Regions from separate parts of the Homo sapiens genome. Here all the other regions are linked to region 2. Evidence: promoter capture Hi-C in 16 types of primary human blood cells and fetal thymus (Javierre and others, 2016). All regions are on one chromosome and are shown on one strand. Each heading gives the region's core, a stretch centred on a gene start or on the middle of the fragment in contact. The rest is flanking DNA. Distances are from core to core; before and after follow the strand shown. Region 1 has its middle 30 kb from the start of TAB2. Region 2 holds the start of PPIL4 (peptidylprolyl isomerase like 4). Region 3 has its middle 12 kb from the start of TAB2-AS1.

Region 1 (3,553 bases), core at 48-2,547, 260 kb before region 2:
TTTTCTAGGTTACTGGTAATACTTGATATTATTCTACTTTGCTTCTTCAAACAGGATGAGGAAAGCATTTTATAAATCCCTTTAAAATTAAAGCCAGAGAGCCCATCATCTTTTGAAGCACTTCCACAGGTGCGAACTGGTTCAAACTTTTTGGAGAGAACTTTACCAATATGTATCACAACCCCTAAAAGCTTTCAGATGCTTTGACTCATTAATTCATCTTCCAGAAACCAGTCTGGAGGGAATAATCTGACAGAAGGTTTAAGCACAAAAACGTTCATCACTGCATTATCTATAATAACAAAACCTGTAGACTCAGTTATCACAATAGGGGATTCACTGAGTATCAAGCTATGATTTCAATATACGTTGGCATATTTAGCAGCTCTTAAAAATGAAGAATTATTAGCAGCACGAGAAAATACTTATAATATTAAGGGGAAAAAAGGAGACTTAAAAAATTTAGATATTGGCTGGGCGCGGTAGCTCACACCTGTAATCCCAGCACTTTGGGAGGCTGAGGTGGGTGGATCACCTGAGGTCAGGAGTTCAAGCCCAGCCTGGCCAACATGGCAAAACCCCGTTTCTACTAAAAAATAAAAAAATTAGCCAAGAATGGTGGTAAGCATCTGTAATCTCAGCTACTCGGGAGGCTCAGACAGGAGAATCACTTGAACTCCGGAGGAAGAGTTTGCAGTGAGCCGAGACGGAGCCACTGCACTCCAGCCTGAGTGACAGAGCAAGACTCCATCTCAAAAACGAAACAAAAACAAAAAAATTTAGATATTGTTTACCTTCAACTCTGTAGCCACAAAAAGTGTATACTGAAAAAAGACTGAAAGCAAAACAATATATTGACATGAGTCAACAGGTGAAAGGATTATAGGTGAGTTTTGTTTGCTTGTTTATGTTTTTCTACATTGAGCATGTATTACTTTTATAATAGAGAAACAATAAGCACTGTTTGAAAAACAAATAGATAAAGCTGGAGAAAGCCCTGAACTGTGTACATTTATGCCCGAACTAGAAATGCTCCCAGAAATATTAAATCGGTAGAAATAATAAGCTTCCCCTACACATAAAGTTACAAGGGAATATAACAAGCAAACTTTGTTTTCTGTTTTTTTTTTTAAAAAGAAAGTATTAGAAAATTGTGACTTTTTCAAATGGTCAATGAATTCTGCTTTTTAAAAGTTGTTGTAAAGGCATTTCTTTGAATCCAAACTGCTGATGTATATATTAACTTCCTAGCCAGCAGACAAAACACAGGGCCGCTCTCAGTCAGTTTGTTACTGAACTTGTTTTCAATGTGGTACTGTGCCTAGTTTTATTTTTTGTATGTGTTAAAAATAAAGACATTGTGCATTCTTAAACTGCCACATATCACTATTCCCTGTGGAGAGAAATTCAGGAAAAGGCAGGTTAGTGCTGAACATTTGCTCAAGTGGATTCATAAATAAAAGCCCTAAGCACCTATGCATGGGGCATGTTATTTATAAGGAGGTCTTAAGCATTAATCTCAATATGGCAAAGCTTCACTAAATCGTTTCTCACTATATAGTATTTGGAGCTTTGATGCACTCCTAAAAACGTGAAATGTTTAAATTCGATCATAAAATTATGTTAAGCAAAGAATTAAATTACGCTTATGATTTGTTAAATTTTTAAACACATAAGCAATAAAGAAATAGCATGATAACAGTAAATATTGTTAAACCTTTACTATGGGCCTAGTACTATGCAAACTACCATATGTGGACTATCTTCTAAATGCTCAAGACACTTTACAAAATGGTACTATCATCTCCAGATGACGAACCTGAGGTGCAAATATCCCAGTAAAATGGTCCTTGTGTCACTCAGTCCCCACACCAGGATCTGCTTAGTAGAGTAGATGTTATCATGGTTCCCTCTGCCTGTCCATTCATCTCAATGCAAATTAGCAGAGAACAGAGTTACAAGTGCACAGAGACTATGGGCCTCCTGCCCCATTGTAGACTCTGCACCCCTCCAGGAGACGGCAGCAAGCAGACATTGCTCCTCTGTGGCCCCGTTGTCTGTCACCAGGTCCTTTTTCTCTGGTCCTGCCCATCTCCCAGCCCCCTGAGATGTGAATGATAAGGGAGAGGGATGTGGCACTGCCACAACATCAGGAAAAGGGTCTTTTCCTCTTTGTTCCCCAAAACCTCACCAACCCCAACTACTGCAGAAAAAGTAAGTCCAATTAGTGAAAAGCTTAACTCCAGAACACTTCTCAAATACTGCAATTGTACTATGCATGAAGGAACTTGAAATACACTTTATAAGTACTAAGCAATACTTGATAGCAGGACTTACAGGATGTCTTATAATCATATTCTGCTGAGTCACTTGAACTAACATTAGTTCTTTGTAAGACTGCACACAAATAGCTTTATTTTAAGGCAATGGGTTCCCTGCTTCTGCTCTTGCCCCTCAACACGAGGACCAGAGTGATTTTTTTTAATTTTTAATTTTTTTTTTTTTTTTTTTTTGAGACAGAGTCTCGCTCTGTCTCCCAGGCTGGAGTACAGTGGTGCAATCTCGGCTCACTGCAACCTCCATCGCCTGGGTTCAAGCAATTCTCATGCCTCCACCTCCAGAATAGCTAGGATTACAGGTATACGCTACCATGCCCAGCTAATTTTTTGTATTTTTAGTAGAGATGGGGTTTTGCCATGTTGGAAAGACTGCTCTCAAACTCCTGGCCTCAAGTGATCCACCCGCCTCAGCCTCCCAAAGTCCTGAGATTACAGGTGTGAGCCACCATGCCAGGTCAACGTGATTCTTTTTAAAAGATAGATCATGTATCTGCTCAAAACCATCCAATGGCCTCCATCTAGCTCAAAATAAAAGGCAAAATCAGGCAGAGTGCAGTGGCTCATGCCTGTAATCCCAGCATTTTGGGAGGCAAGGGCAGGAGGATTGCTTGAGCCCAAGGGGAACAAGGTCATAGTGAGCTATGTTCATGCCACTGCACTCTAGCCTGAGTGACATAGCAAGACCCTGTCTCTAAAAAAAAAAAAGGCCAAAGTCCTTACCATGGCCTAAAGTCCCTCATAGATCACTGGGGAGACCTTTAAAGCCAGAGACTGTGAGTCAGGGCCTGGGCTAGAGGCCTCTAAAAGCTCAACAGGTGTTTCCCACATGCAGCCACGTGGAGAATCACAGTCCTGCCTGACCTGACCTCATTTTCCAACTCTCTCTTCACCCAGTCCACTCCAGCCACTGGGCCCCTTGCTGGGCCTATGCCCGGAAACTACACACCTCACTGCTGTTGATGAAAAAAGTCAAACTCTGTAAAATATTTGAAAAGATTTATTCTGAGCCAAATATGAGTAACCAATGGCCTGTGACACAACTCTCAGGAGGGCCTGAGAACATGCGCCTAAGTTGGTCGGGCTACAACTTGGTTTTATACATTTTAGGAAGACATAAGACATCAATCAATGCATGTAAGATGGACATTGGTTCTGTCCGGAAAGAAGGAACAACTGGAAACATGTGGGGTGTGGGCGTGGGGGGCACAGTGGCA
Region 2 (3,438 bases), core at 729-3,228:
TTATCTTTGCAGACCCACTGCTTGTTAATTGGGTGGGGTAGCTCTACACCCCTTTATTTCCTCATAACTCTGGGAAAAGAGGCCCATTTATTTTGCCAGGTGCTACTCTACATGGGCAGAGCGTCAAAGGAACTCAAAGAAAAGCAAAATCAAGAGATAAAAAACAAAATTCCCTATGATATTCTTTGAAACACTCGATCCAGCCACTCGATCCAAGCTTACCCCAGTATTATGAGGCAACCAATTATTTTGTTTATGCCAGTTTGAGTTGGGTTTCTATCACTTGAACAAAGGGTCCTAACTAATACAACACATTTATATCCATTAGTCATCATAATGAACCTCTAGTGTGTGCCCTAAAAGTAGCAGACATTGTACTGGGTACTCAGGATATAGAGATGATAATTATGGTATAGTTCCTGCTCTCATTGGAGTTTACATTCTTGAGCGAGGGCACGCTTGTAAACAACACCAGGATAATAGGTAAATGTTAAAATAAAATGTGTCATGTGGTTTATAAAAGACCTAAGACACAGCAGAGGAACCCTCAGGTAACTCTGCTTAGAAAGGAGGGAGAGCTTCAAAGAAGAGATGATGCTTGATCTGAGATTTAGATAATAAGTAGTAAGTTTGCCAGAAGGACAATAGTGGAGAAGAATATTGTTTAGAAGAAACAGCAAAAGAATGGTAACAATGGTACGGGAGAGTTTGTAGTGTTTTCGCCAGGTGGAGAGGAGGGAGGAATAGCTGCGTGCGAGGGAAAGCGGAGCACGGCAGGAGGTAGTTATTGTACAATATTGCAACTTATTTCACCTTCTTTGATAGGCTCTGCATTCCATGTGGGTAGGACCCTGTTTGTAACTAATCTCTCCTGGTCTCAGTTTCTTCCTGACTCTGATACATTCTCCACACCGCTGCCTATTATCTTCTCAAAACAAGTATGCCATGCCTCAATCCTGCTTTTAAAGTCTTCAAGGACTCTGATCATCAGTAGGGCACACAAGACTATTCACGACTGACCTAGGCGTATCTGACCACACTCGAGTCTACCATTCCACGACTCACACCAGTCCTTCCAGCCACACCAAACTACTTGCCGTTTCCAGAAAATTCCAAACAAAGAAAGTCCAAGCTAAGAAAACCCTCATTCCCATTCATCTTTGAAAGAACTAGTTCAAGTGTTCTATATAGTATTCGCTAGCTTTGCTTCTTCCCACCCCCCACCAAAGAAGCCGCCCTCTTCTGGTTTCCGTGGCAACTTACACATTCTTCTACCATAACACATAGAAAACTAAAATGGGTTCCTGTGTCTACTTCCCCCAGTGGAAAAATCAGACCCTCGGGGGCAAGAAGCCAAGCCCAGGACTTAGCCCAGTGCCTCGAAGGCTCAGTCCACACTCCAGACAACCTCTTCCTCCTCCACCTAAGCGGTATGCCCACACTCGCTGCGCCAAGCACACCCTAACTGCCTTCATCAAGATTTAACCGATTACACACCAAGCAATAGTTCCTATGTTCCTCTCACGAGTAAACACAATAAAGGCACAAAAGCTATGGGTATTGTATGTGCAGCTCGAATCACACACACACACGCCCCACACACACACTCCCAAAGGCAATTAATGACCGCAAGCACCGTCCACCGGACTGGCCAACACAAAATACGGGAGAAGGGCTGCCAAGGCTCAAACGAATTCCCGTCACAAAAACTTTTCTAGCCAAGGCCGGTTAATAAAATAGCCCAGTCGCGGGCACCAGCAGCCCAGAAGCTCGAGCTCTAGCCAATCTCTGCCCTGGACTGCGCAGAGAAGGGAAAGTAGGGAGACAAGCTCGGGGGCCCCGGCGACAGGTGAGTGGGGCTCAAGCCTCACCACGCGGCCGTTCTTCGGTGTACAAGTCGATGACGACGTCGCCTAAAGTGGTCTCCAGTAGAACCGCCATGGCGCCCGCTCCTCCTCCGCTACAAACCCCGGGAGGAGGGGGGTGACAGGCGCAGGCCGACGGCGTCGTCTACGCCACGCGTCACCCTCGGCGCGACCCCTTTTGCGTCATCTCGCCGGCGCCGCCCCCGGTTCCGAGCAGTTCCTTCCGGTCGGCGTGCGGGCGCCGGGCTGCCCAGCTGACTTACGGATCGGGTTGGTCCCGCCCCCGGCGCGGCCGTTTTGAAAATCCTGGTCCGCCCTTGGCGATTTTGGTGGAAGCCTGTCCCTCAGAACGGTCTCAGTATAGTGTTTTGTGCCCCGTTTGTGTCCGTCTCAAGAGCAGAGCGGCCCTCCGCGCGGCCCTTTTATCCACCAGGGGGCGCCCGCGGCGGGATCTTCTCTCCACCTATTTGGGCGGACTCCTCCGGGTTTCCTCGTCAGTCTCCTTTTCGCAAAACAACTTTGGGCCTCTACTAGGGGTTTCCGATTCTAAGAACTAACATTTTGTTTTGTTTTCTGTTTTGAGACAGGGTCTCGCTCTGTTGCCCAGGCTGGAGTGCAGTGGCGCGATGTCGGCTCACTGCAACCTCCACCTCCCGGGCTCCAGCGATTTTCCTGTCTCAGCCTCCCAAGTGACCACAGGCGCGCGCCACCACGCCCGGCTAATTTTGTTCTTTTATTTTTTGTAGAGATGGCGGTCGGGGGAGGTGGTCTCACTATGTTGCTCAGACTGGTCTCAAACTCCTGAGCTCAAGGAGTTCGAACTCTTCCCGCCTTGGCCTCCCGAAGTGCTGAGATTACTGGCGTGAGCCACTGCGCCTGGCCAAAACTAACATTTTGCCATGCAAGTTTATTCCCCAGACACTCTTCTGGGCAAGCCTGTCACTCTTTCTTATGACATTTTACACATAATCTCCAATAACTTCACATCTGACGAAAAGCCAAAGCTTTTTTTTTTTTTTTTTTTTTTGAGACGGAGTCTCGCTCTGTCGCCCAGTCTAGAGTGCAGTGGCGCGATCTCGGCTCACTGCAAGCTCCGCCTCCCGGGTTCACCCCATTCTCCTGCCTCCGCCTCCCGAGTTGCTGGGGCTACAGGTGTCCGCCATCACGCCCGGCTAATTTTTTGTGTTTTTAGTAGAGACCGGGTTTCACCGTGTTAGCCAGGATGGTCTCGACCTCCTGACCTCGTGGATCCGCCCGCCTCCGCCTCCCAAAGTGCTGGGATTACAGGCTTGAGCCACCGCACCTGGCGGAAAAGCCAGAGCTTTTATAATGATTTACAAGATCCTCTCCTACCCCATCCTACGCCATCTTCTTATTCCTCTGAAGCCACAGTAGACAGTTTGCTATTCCCTGAACACTGCTGACATACTCCTGCCCCATGGCCTTTTCACTTGCCTTGGTTGAGGGACCTCTTCCTCCAGTTATTTGTATGGCTCCCATTCACCTCCTTCAGGCGCTTTGGCGTCGGTCACCCTGTCAGTGAGGCCCTCCATGGCTGCCATAATTAAAATTA
Region 3 (3,398 bases), core at 844-3,343, 280 kb before region 2:
GTAAATGTCAAATTAATGAATTAGTATCATCACCCAAAACAAAATATGAAAATCAAAAGCTATAGCAAAATATACTCTCCAAAATATTAATACCTCTTAGCCAATGTACTAGTTAGAGTTAGGTTTGGCTTTCAGTACCAGAAAAGTCAAAATGGTAGTGGCTTAACCATGAAGGCACTTGCTCACCAAAAAGAAACCCAGACGTCATCAGTTCAAGGGCTGATGTGGCCCTCCATCCATAGTGCTAAGGGCCCAGGCTCCTTCTCGGTTGTTCTGCTAGTCTTAGCTCCGCATCACGGTCCACTGTGGCTGCTCCACCCCAGCCATCCCATTAGCATTCCAGCAACAAAAAAGAGAAAAAGCACATCCAGAAGTTAGTCACGTGGTCCACATCCAGCTGGGAGAAAAATAACATTCTGAGTGGCCATGAGCCCACCTAAAACTCATGTCCTAGGTAGACTACAGAAGAGGTGAGAATGAATGTTCTAATTCTCATCATTTTCATGAACCACATTTATAGAGAGAGAGCAAGACAGAGACTCAAAGAACAGCTGCATGTGGAAGGAAAATGTTGACATTTATGATGACTGTGAGATCCTTGCATTGGATAAATTCTCGGAGCAATTGGACTTAGTGTAACATCAGTGTAACACCTTAAAATAATAACACGAGGTGTCTTTGCATACATGGAGAACCACTGCCTAGCAAATCATATTTATTTTCTTCCTTTCGTATATGTAACAAAGAAGAGAATTTCTCGACACTTGCTGTGGTGGAGTATGCATTCATTGTGTCTGCAATTTCTTGTATATGACTATCTTTTCTAATTTCTCCACACTAAACATGTGAACATATACTGCTTGTGTAATAAAAACTTGTTTATAAAACATACACACAGTACAGTAGTTGTTTCCAATTCTCTTAGCTACAGAATGAGTCGATCTTTTTCATATCAAATTACTTTTCAAAGTGACCTAGTGGACTAAGCATGAGTCTGGGAGCTGGAAACCCTCCAAATCTTTATCAAAGTACAAGGGGCTCCTGCTGTGGAACCTTTGCTATTCCTTTATCCCCTCTGAATCTTAGGTTCCTTGTGCAATACATAAGTATACTCAGGGATATTGAGTTGAATTGATTAGCATTCTCTGGGACTACAAAGACATAACATTGTTTTTATTTAAGGTTGTTGAAAATTGAGTCTGAGGCATAATACCTAAATAAAAGCTGTTTCATTAGCCTTTGTGCTGCGAATAAAATGATACATCCTTTGAGTAAATTGTAAATAGCAGAGTTTCAACAAGCCAAAGCCTCACAGCCTAGGACCTATTTTCTCCTATTTGACGTGGTAAAAGAAGTTACGCTAGGTTATCAACAACCTAGTGCTATGAATTATGTGTATGTGATAGATACCATTTTTAAATTGAATACTTTTATTAAAAATTCACTATATTATTCTTTTTTCCTTTTTTATATTAAGGTTCAATTTACAGAAGATTAAAGTAGATTTTTACCCTTTTTATTGTGCAGTTCTTCAAGTTTTGAAAAGTGTATAGAGTTGTGTAACCACCACCAGGATGCAATAGTTAAGTAAAACAGTTACATCACCCTAAAAAATTCCTTTTCACCCCTTTGCAATCCACTCCTCTCCCTACCCCAGCCCCTGGCAACCATTGATTGGTTATCTGTCCTTGTAGTTTTACCTTTGCAAGATTATCATGTATCATTCGTTTCATAAGGTGAAATCATACAGGATAAGGTCTTTGCCTTCTTTCACTTGGTATATATGAGATATAGCCATGTTGTTGCATATATCTGTAATTCGTTTCTTTTATTGCTAAGTAGTATTCAACTACATGAATGTATCACATTTTGTTTATCCATTGCCCAACTGAGTGACATTTGGTTGTTTCCAGTTTTTGGTGATTACAAACGAAGTCAATATAAAGATTCACATACAGATTTTTGTGTGGACATAGGTTTTCATTTCACGTGGGTAAATACCTAGGAAAGAAATTGCTGGGTCCTACAGCAAGCATACATTTAACTTTACAAAAAGCTGCCAAACTGTTTTCCAAAGGGCTGTGCCATTTTGCAGCCACATCAGCAATAGATGAGAGTTCCAATTGCTCCAAATTCTTGCTAATGTTTGATAATGTTGATTTTTGTTTATTTTAGCTATTCCAATTCAGTGTTTAATGGTATTTGTGGTCTTGATTTGCATTTCCCTAATTATTAGCGATGTAAAACATCTTTTTATGTGCTTATTTGCCATCCATGTAGCTTCTTTGATCAAATGTTGGTTGAATTCTTCTGCTCATTTTTTAACTGGGCTCTATGGTTTTCCTATTATTGAGTTTTGAGAGTTCTTTACACTAGTTCTTTATCAGATATATGTTTTGCAAGTACTTCTTACCAGTCTGTGGCTTTTCATTTTCTTTACCACTGCATTATTCCTTTTTTTCTTTAGTTCAAGAGATCTATTGTATAGCACGATGACTATAGTTAATAACAGTATATTGAATACTTCAAAACCGCTAAGAGAGTAGATTTTAAGTATTCTCACCACAAAAATAATGATAAGTATATGAGGTCATGAACATGTTAATTAGCTAGATTTAACATTCTACAATCTATACATCTATCAAAACATCATGTTTTACACCATAAATATATATAATTTTTACTTGTCAATTTAAAAAGTAAAAATTAACACATTTTTAAAACAACATTTAGAATCCAGACCTTGCACATTTTCATCACAGATGCACATGGCACCAGTGATGTATTATCCAGAGCTTGGGGCAAGCCTCTCCGACGTACACATGGTCAACTCGCCCAGCTTTGTCTTTCAGTTTCTTCTCTTTTTTGGATCTAGAGGAAGTGTATCACATAAAAGAGTGGTGAAGATGACATAGAGGAGGTACTGTCTTGAAGGATTCTGGTCTTGAAGAGTGAGAAGTATTACTGATCCACTGCTGTTGCAAAAAACTGGGTAGTCAGAGGGTTACGGGGTGGTATAATAATGAAAGCCCTGAAGTTGGAATGAATCTGCTGCCATGTCGCTCTATCTCTCTGCACCTTATTCTTTTTTTTTTCATTTTGACTTAGTTGAAAATACTGTCAAAAATATTACTGTTAGCTACTTGGGAGGCTTAGGTAAGAGGATTGCTTGAGCCCAGGAGTTAGAGGCTGCAGTGAGCTATGATTGCCCCACTGTACTCCAGCCTGAGTGACAGAGTGAGACCTTATCTCTAAAAAATATATATATTTTTTAAAAAAGAATATTATTGACCTGACTGTGTTTGGAAACTCCTGCTCTGTAAAACACACATAAAAATAATGGACAGGGTTCCTGTTCTAGGGATGTAAATAATTTCATTGGTGTGCTAGTACATAAC

Evidence for each region. Contacts are between HindIII fragments. The CHiCAGO score rates a contact against its expected background, and 5 or more counts as called.
Region 1: a contact is called between a fragment that was not itself captured here and the fragment with the promoter of PPIL4 in region 2, in 1 of 17 cell types (non-activated CD4 T cells). The highest score is 5.7, in non-activated CD4 T cells.
Region 3: a fragment that was not itself captured here is called in contact with the fragment with the promoter of PPIL4 in region 2 in 2 of 17 cell types (neutrophils and naive CD4 T cells); the score reaches 9.8 in neutrophils.

The regions. Positions count from the first base shown.
Region 1 is chr6:149,286,363-149,289,915 of GRCh38, forward strand. It overlaps a transcript of TAB2 not described here. Among named protein-coding and RNA genes, the nearest start is that of TAB2, 30 kb to the right of the region's middle. The HindIII fragment of the contact is 467 bases long and covers 1,065-1,531 here.
Region 2 is chr6:149,544,065-149,547,502 of GRCh38, forward strand. PPIL4 (peptidylprolyl isomerase like 4) reads right to left here and starts at 1,979. Exons shown (of 13, transcript NM_139126.4): 1 at 1,872-1,979. The coding sequence starts at 1,941. RefSeq lists enhancers at 1,869-2,168, 2,872-3,438. The HindIII fragment of the contact is 2,652 bases long and covers 216-2,867 here.
Region 3 is chr6:149,267,956-149,271,353 of GRCh38, forward strand. It overlaps a transcript of TAB2 not described here. Among named protein-coding and RNA genes, the nearest start is that of TAB2-AS1, 12 kb to the left of the region's middle. RefSeq lists an enhancer at 3,394-3,398. The HindIII fragment of the contact is 9,013 bases long and covers 1-3,398 here.